Linked DNA regions of Homo sapiens: region 2 is linked to region 1. The links are contacts of gene promoters, found by promoter capture Hi-C in blood cells and fetal thymus (Javierre and others, 2016). All regions are on one chromosome and are shown on one strand. Each heading gives the region's core, a stretch centred on a gene start or on the middle of the fragment in contact. The rest is flanking DNA. Distances are from core to core; before and after follow the strand shown.

Region 1 (3,583 bases), core at 1,029-3,528:
CAACAGATGAATGGATAAAGAAAATGTGATACATATACACAATATAGTATTATTCAGCCATAAAAAAGAATGAAATCCTGTCATTTGCAACAACATGGATGAAACTGGAGATCATTATGTTAAGTGAAATAAGCCAGGCACAGAAAGAAAAACATCACATGTTCTCACCTATTTGTGGGATCAAACAATCAAAACAATTTAACTCATGGAAATAGAGAGTAGAAGGATGGTTACTAGAGACTGGAAAACATAGAGGGGGTGGGGATGTTGGGGGGCAGGTGGGGATAATAAATGTGTACAAAAATTAGAAAGAATAAGATCTACTATTTGATAGCACAACAAGGTGTCTGTAGTCAACAATAATTTAATTTTCATTTAAAAATAACTAAAACAGTATAATTGTTTTGTTTGTATAATAACACAAAGAATAAAATGCATGAGGGGATGAGTACCCTATCCTTCAGGATGTGATTATCACACATTGCATGCCTGTATCAAAACTTCTCCCGTACCTCATATATACATGTACCATCTACCTACAAAAATTAAAAATTAAAAAAATTATATGGAACCACAAAAGACCCAGAATAGCCAAACCTGTCCTAAGCAAAAAGAACAAAACTGGAGGAATCACATTACCTGACTTCAAATTATACTACAGAGCTAGAGTAAACAAAATGGCATGGTACTGGCATAAAAACAGACACATAGATCAGTAGAACAGAGCGGAGAACGCAGAGATAAATCCACACAGCTACGGTAAACTCATTTTCGACAAAGTTGCCAAGAACATACTCTGGGGAAAGGACAGTCTCTTCAATAAATGATGCTGAGAAAATTGGATATCCATATGCAAAAGAGTGAAACTAGATCTCTATCTCTTGCCATTTACAAAAATCAAAGAAAAATGGATTAAAGGCTGGGAGTGGTGGCTCACACTTGTGAGGCCAAGGTGGGCCAATCGCTTGAGGTTAGAAGTTTGAGACCAGCCTGGGTAACATGGCAAAAACCCATGTCTATACAAAATACAAAAATTAGCTGAGCATGGTGGTGCACACCTGTAGTTCCAGCTAATGGGGAGGCTGAGGTTGGAGGATTACTAGAACTCGGGAAGTTGAGGCTGCAGTGAGTCATGAGCATGCCACTCCACTCCACTTTATAACACACTGTTGTCTACATAAGGCTAGCTACATCCCTTAATCTTAAACTCCCACCGCTTTCAGACACTATCATACCCCGCCCCCCTTCCCCCCGCGAACCCCCGTGCATTCTGGGACTCATGGTTTGGTGAGTGTTGTCCAGGAATGGCTACAAACCCACATTACTATGATATCGGACTTCTACTTGTGTAGTCATTTGTTAGTTAACTGTACATTTTGGAAGGTTTTTGAGTAGAGAAGTGAAATAATCCAACGTTTGGGAAGATTTTCTTGTGCAGGATTGGAGGAGGACGGGAAAGAGGGAAAAAGCATTGCGCGCGTGTGTGTGTGTGAAGTTATTACAACTATCTATCTTGAAGCATGCGAGGTAGGAGGGCCTGAATTGCCATGAAACGCAATGACGATAAACGAAGGGACCCGTGAGAAAGGGGCAAAGAGGTGTCTCAATAAAATAAGCAACGGCCTGCTGTGGGAGGATTCGGGTCTCAGTATAGGCTGCCACTGTCAGCTTTGCAATATTCCTCGAGCCTTTATCCATGAGTAGGACAGGATGGCTCTACCTTGCAGGGTTACAGCATGGAGCTGCGGGACTGCGCCGGCAGTGCGCTGAGCGGCATCCCTGCGATAGGGTGAGTGCACCAACCCTTGTTGTCTCTCTTAGTAAGAAAGAGGAGGGGTAGATAATAGCATCTTCACCCCAGTAGTTGCCGTAAGTAGTAATGCTAAGAATCCGGCACGTCGTAGGCATCAATCTCAGTCCGCCATCTCCCCTTGCTACCACGCCAGGAGGTACACAGAGGAGACTGCCCCGACTGGCAACTCCCGCGCCGGGGTTCCCTGGCCATCCTCCCGCGTTCCCTCCAGCCGCGCGCTGTTGCCAGGGCCCGGGCACCGCCCAGCTCCACTACGGACCAATGGCAGCGCGGCTTGGGCACCGCCCAGCTTCAGCGGAAGCCAATGGAGGCGCGGCGCGGGCACCGCCCTGATCCGGCGCGGGCCAATAGCGGCGTGGCCCGAAGCGGGGGCCGCCCCGGTCGGGCGGGGAGGCGGGGAGGTGGCCACTGGCTCCGCCCCGCTCCCCTCTGACCCGGTGTCTAGTCTCTCCGTCTTCCTGTTCCAAACCACGTGGACGCGTCTGGGCTGCTGGAGGCAGCCCGAGCCGCCGCCGTCGGTGTCGCCGCCACCACCACCATCGGAGTCACGAGTCCCGCGTCTGTCCGAAGTCGCCGCTCTCGGGCTGCTCACGTCTCTTCGGAGAGCGCGCACATGGCGACTCAGGCGCACTCCCTCAGCTACGCAGGGTGCAACTTCTTGCGCCAACGTCTGGTCCTGTCTACCCTGAGCGGGCGCCCCGTCAAAATCCGAAAGATTCGGGCCAGAGACGACAACCCGGGCCTCCGAGGTAACTTGGTGTGGGCGGCGCGCGGCGTGGGCGCGGGGGCTGAGGGGAGACCGAGCTGATGCCGTGGGGGCCCGCGCGGTGTTGGTTGGGCGGCTCGGCGTCCGGCGAGCGCGTCGGGGAGGGCAGGTGGCGCGTCGCCTCCAAAGCCGGAGGGGCAGGCACAGTGGGGGAGGCGGGGTCGGGGCCCGAGGGGAGCGCTCAGCTGCAAGCTGCGCTCGGCGTCTCCGGGGCGCTGGTAGTAAACAGCTGCACGTTTTCCAGCTTTACGTGTAGCAACAAATCCCTGGCGTCGCCCCTTCGCGTCCCTTCGGCCCCTCTTGCCCTCGCCATAAACCTCTCAAAGGAGAAAAACAGTTTGTTGGACCGAAATATGGTGAATGAGCCGGGGGAGAGACATTGGGAGAGAAAAGTACCTTGGGTTGGTTCTCTGCCCTGTCTCAAAGCAGTTCTCAGAAGCAGCTGCCCCCTTGGACACCGGCTGTTCCTGTCGCCATGATTTCTCGGCTGCCCTCACACTTGTCCTTGGGTGTGGATAAAGAAATTTTTAAAATTCTGTGTTTGTTTTCAGCCGTGACTGTGATTGATGTGCGCAGGACAGGAGCTTTGAGATAGACTTTTAACAGTCATGGGCCTAATTGCCTTGACTTTAGAAAAGGGGTCGGTGACAATCGCTAAACTGCAGGCTTCCAAGCTCACTTCTTGCTCTGCAATGGTAGGTTAAAAAGAAATAGGCCCATTTAAACCCACATCTCATTAAATGGCGCCGGTTTTCAACTGGCCTTGGTTTACACCTGGCCCCCTGGCATGAGATACATGCATTTAAAAGCTTCTGACTGGTGGTTATCCCAAGTTGGGCGAGTCAGTAGTCAGGTGAAAAAGGAAAAAACCTGTCTGTAAATTGAAAAAGAGTGTTTGTGGTTGGTCCTGGAAGCTTCCTGAGCGGCGCTGATGTGTTTCATTTTGCACTGGCTCTTGTTTTATCTGTCTGAATGCATTTTTTGGATAGTTAGATCTCTGCCTC
Region 2 (3,305 bases), core at 529-3,028, 1.2 Mb after region 1:
AAGGAACCATCAGCTTCACAACTTGTTCTGTATATTCCACAAACCCTTCCCTTAACTCCTTAGCATAGTAAACCAACATTTGGCAAGCAGTTGCTTTTGCTTCAAGTCCTGAAGTTTTAATTCCAAAACTCTGCTGGTCTCCAAGATTTACAAATTGCCAGCCATCATCGTCACTCATATTTTCCACATCCTGTGTGTCTAAGAGAGCAACATCAGGTTTAGCTGAAGCAGTCTTAATAAGAGGCTCGATAACCAGTGGAAGGTACTGTTGAAAATCTTTTCCAAGAATTTTACACATTCTAGCCCATGCTGAAACCATGTAAGAGGTCTGAGGGTCATCATCTTCCATATTATTTAAGTCTGATTGTGTCTTCAACAACAGCTGCATCACATTTGATGCATCTTGCATAAATTTTTCCTTCCCAACAGCAAGACCAATATGGCTAATGCACTCGATAGTTTTTCCTCTCAGAAGCTTGAGTTCCTTCTGAACAGCAAGCTCAACAATGTGCTTTAGTGAGGGCATGAATATATCATAATATGGGACAAATTTTTCTTCTATTGTATCTGCAACTGATGCAATGGTTGTCACAAGTTGTTCCAAAGCCAACTTAGTTCCATTCCGAATCAACTCTTGAAGTTTAATCACCAAGACGGAATGTAGATTTTTCACCATACTATCCACATATAGAACTAGCAATGATTTAGGGCAGTCTTCAATAAAAATAATAAGAGCAGAAGCTGCATGTGATTGCACACGCTGATTACCTTGATTTTCCATGGTACGTAACAGAGCTGCAATCACTGTTTCATGAAATTTCTTTTGGAAATTAGGTGCAAAATCTGTAGCCATCTGTCCAAGTGTAGTACAGGCTGCAGCCCTCACCCTTGGATGAGGATCCTGAAGAAAAAGCAAAACGGAGTTAACTGTTTCATCTAGAATTGATTCCATTTGTTGATGGCATCCTTCTCCAATGGCAGATAAGGCCATTAATCCAGCATGTCGATACTTCCAGTCAGGGCTCTGAAGCATCTGCATGATATGCTCCTTGGTCATTGGTAAAACAACTTTTCCACCAAGCCCACAAGCCAGTCTGTCTAGTGCACTCTCCGCAGCAACTGCATTGCTGTCAAAATCATCTTCTTCCATTTCATCAGCATTTACCCAGTCCTCATCATCTTGTAGATCAACCATCATTGCTAATATATGAGGAACTGCCTGTGCAATAATATTTGTATGTTTTTTCAACATCGGAGTGGCAGTTTCAGACAAGGTCACTATAACTTCGAGGGCCAGCTGGCGCTGCAGATTACTAAGCCTAGAGTCTCCACATAACTTCAAACTCAACTGTAGAGTATCTTCTAAATAAGGACCCAAGTACTTAGGTACGGTATCTGCAATCTCAACAAGGGATTCTAGCACTGAATCATCATCCTGGTAGCATGAGTCATTCACAGCCTGTAAGATTCCAGGAAGCAAGTCTGCAAAGTCTTTGAAAAGAGCAATATTATTCTCATTAGCAAGTACAAATGCAGCTGCAGCTCTAGCGGATAATGTCCTGATTGCTGGATGTTCTTGATCTTGAATACACTGGTCCAACAACCGTTTGATGATATCCAAATCATGCCGCTCTTGGGTCCCAAAAATCCCAGGAAAGTGCCAGAAAACGTGAAGTGCAACTTCCCATAGAACCACATTTTTGGAGTAGATTGAATCAATAAGAAACTTCAGACCTTCCGGCCAGTGGTTAGTGCCATCCTCATCTATCAAATTCCTGGCCAGCACTGCAAAAATATCACAAAGTTTTTTCCTCATGCTAGCATGTGTTTCTAACTTAACAGCCAGAATCAGTTCAATCTTGACATCTCTCTGAACATCAGCAGGCAGATTTGGATAAACCTCCTCAAACCCAGAGGACAAAAGCCGTCGTAGCAGTGCGGCAGCCATTTGTCTCACCTCATAACCTGCTCTTCTATTTCTGACGGCATCTAAGAGGAAGGTAGTCTTACACAGACCTGGGATATTTTCATAGATTTCCTCTGCTTGCCTCCGCACCATACAGCTTGGATTGATCAGGTTCTTCAGAAGCTGGTAAAACTCTTGCTTTTCTGACACGGTCGCCGGCACCCCTGCAGACGCGGTTGCCGCCATTGCGCTCTGTCAAAGCTACCGCGACCGGGAAGGAGGGAGGGGGTCTGCGGCTCGAAGCAGTGACGTAGGCGAGGCGCCGGCGGGGATGGGCGGGGTGCTTCTCCCTCCTCTGCCCAGAAACTCTAGCTGCGCTCTGGCAGGCTGCGAGCTAGGTTTTGGAGAGAGGTGAGAGCCGTGTGGAGGCCAATGGCATCCTCCATTTGTTTTTCAATAAGATAAACGTGCACTTGCAGGCGAGAGAAGAAAAGCATTGATTAGAATGGGATCATGACTTTTTTTTTTTTTGGATACAAGGTCTGGCTGTGTCACCTAGGCTGGAGTATAGCGGCGCGATCCCTGCTCACTGCAGCCTCAACCTCCTGGGCTCAAGCGATCCTCCCCGCCTCAGTTCCCCCAGTAGCTGGGACCACAGGCGCGCGCCACCACGCCCGGCTAATTGTGTTTTTTATAGAGACAGGGTTTCGCCATGTTGCCCAGGCTGGTCTCGAACTCCTGGGCTCAGGTGATCTGCCCGCCTCGGCCTCCCGAAGTACTGGGAATACAGGTGTGAGCCACTGCTTCTGGTCAGATTATGAGTGATTTTTTTCTTTTATTTCTAAACTATATTGTTACTTTGATAATTTTAAAACAATAAGTCTATCTTGAAAACATGCCAAGTGAAAGAAACCAGTCACAACCACATATTGTATGATTCCATTTGTATGAAAGGTACCAAACAGGCAAATTGTATAACAGAAATTAGTGGTTGCCAGAGGTTGGGGGGAGGGGAGGATAGAGAATGACTGCTATCAAATAGGGTGTTTCTTTCTGAGTGATGAAATGTTCTAAAATTAATTGTGATGGTTGCACAATTCTGTGATTATACTAAAAACCATTGAGTTGTTAAATTTAAATTGGTGAATTGTATGGCATATAAATAATACTACAATAAAGCTTTATAAAATAATAAGTGTGATAATAAAATAATAATTACTTCCCCACTACCACATCTAATGCAGTAGAGTGGTAGCTCAAAATCTGGTGTGTGTCAGAATCACCTGGCCTGTTGGTTATAATAAAGAATGGGAAAGACAACTGAGTAAAGTATGGTAGAAAGTGATCTGAACTAATAATCAGAAGACAGACTTGCATCCTGGCCTTGTCACTAAATTAA

Evidence for each region. Contacts are between HindIII fragments. The CHiCAGO score rates a contact against its expected background, and 5 or more counts as called.
Region 2: a fragment that was not itself captured here is called in contact with the fragment with the promoter of RCL1 in region 1 in 1 of 17 cell types (fetal thymus); the score reaches 5.2 in fetal thymus.

Annotation. Positions count from the first base shown.
Region 1 is chr9:4,790,666-4,794,248 of GRCh38, forward strand. It overlaps RCL1 (RNA terminal phosphate cyclase like 1), which reads left to right and starts at 2,279. Exons shown (of 9, transcript NM_005772.5): 1 at 2,279-2,562. The coding sequence starts at 2,427. RefSeq lists enhancers at 1,536-1,585, 2,406-2,455, 2,530-3,029 and a silencer at 1,966-2,325. The HindIII fragment of the contact is 3,785 bases long and covers 1-3,386 here.
Region 2 is chr9:6,013,456-6,016,760 of GRCh38, forward strand. It overlaps RANBP6 (RAN binding protein 6), which reads right to left and starts at 2,169. Exons shown (of 1, transcript NM_012416.4): 1 at 1-2,169. The coding sequence starts at 2,152. RefSeq lists an enhancer at 1,988-2,047. The HindIII fragment of the contact is 2,610 bases long and covers 474-3,083 here.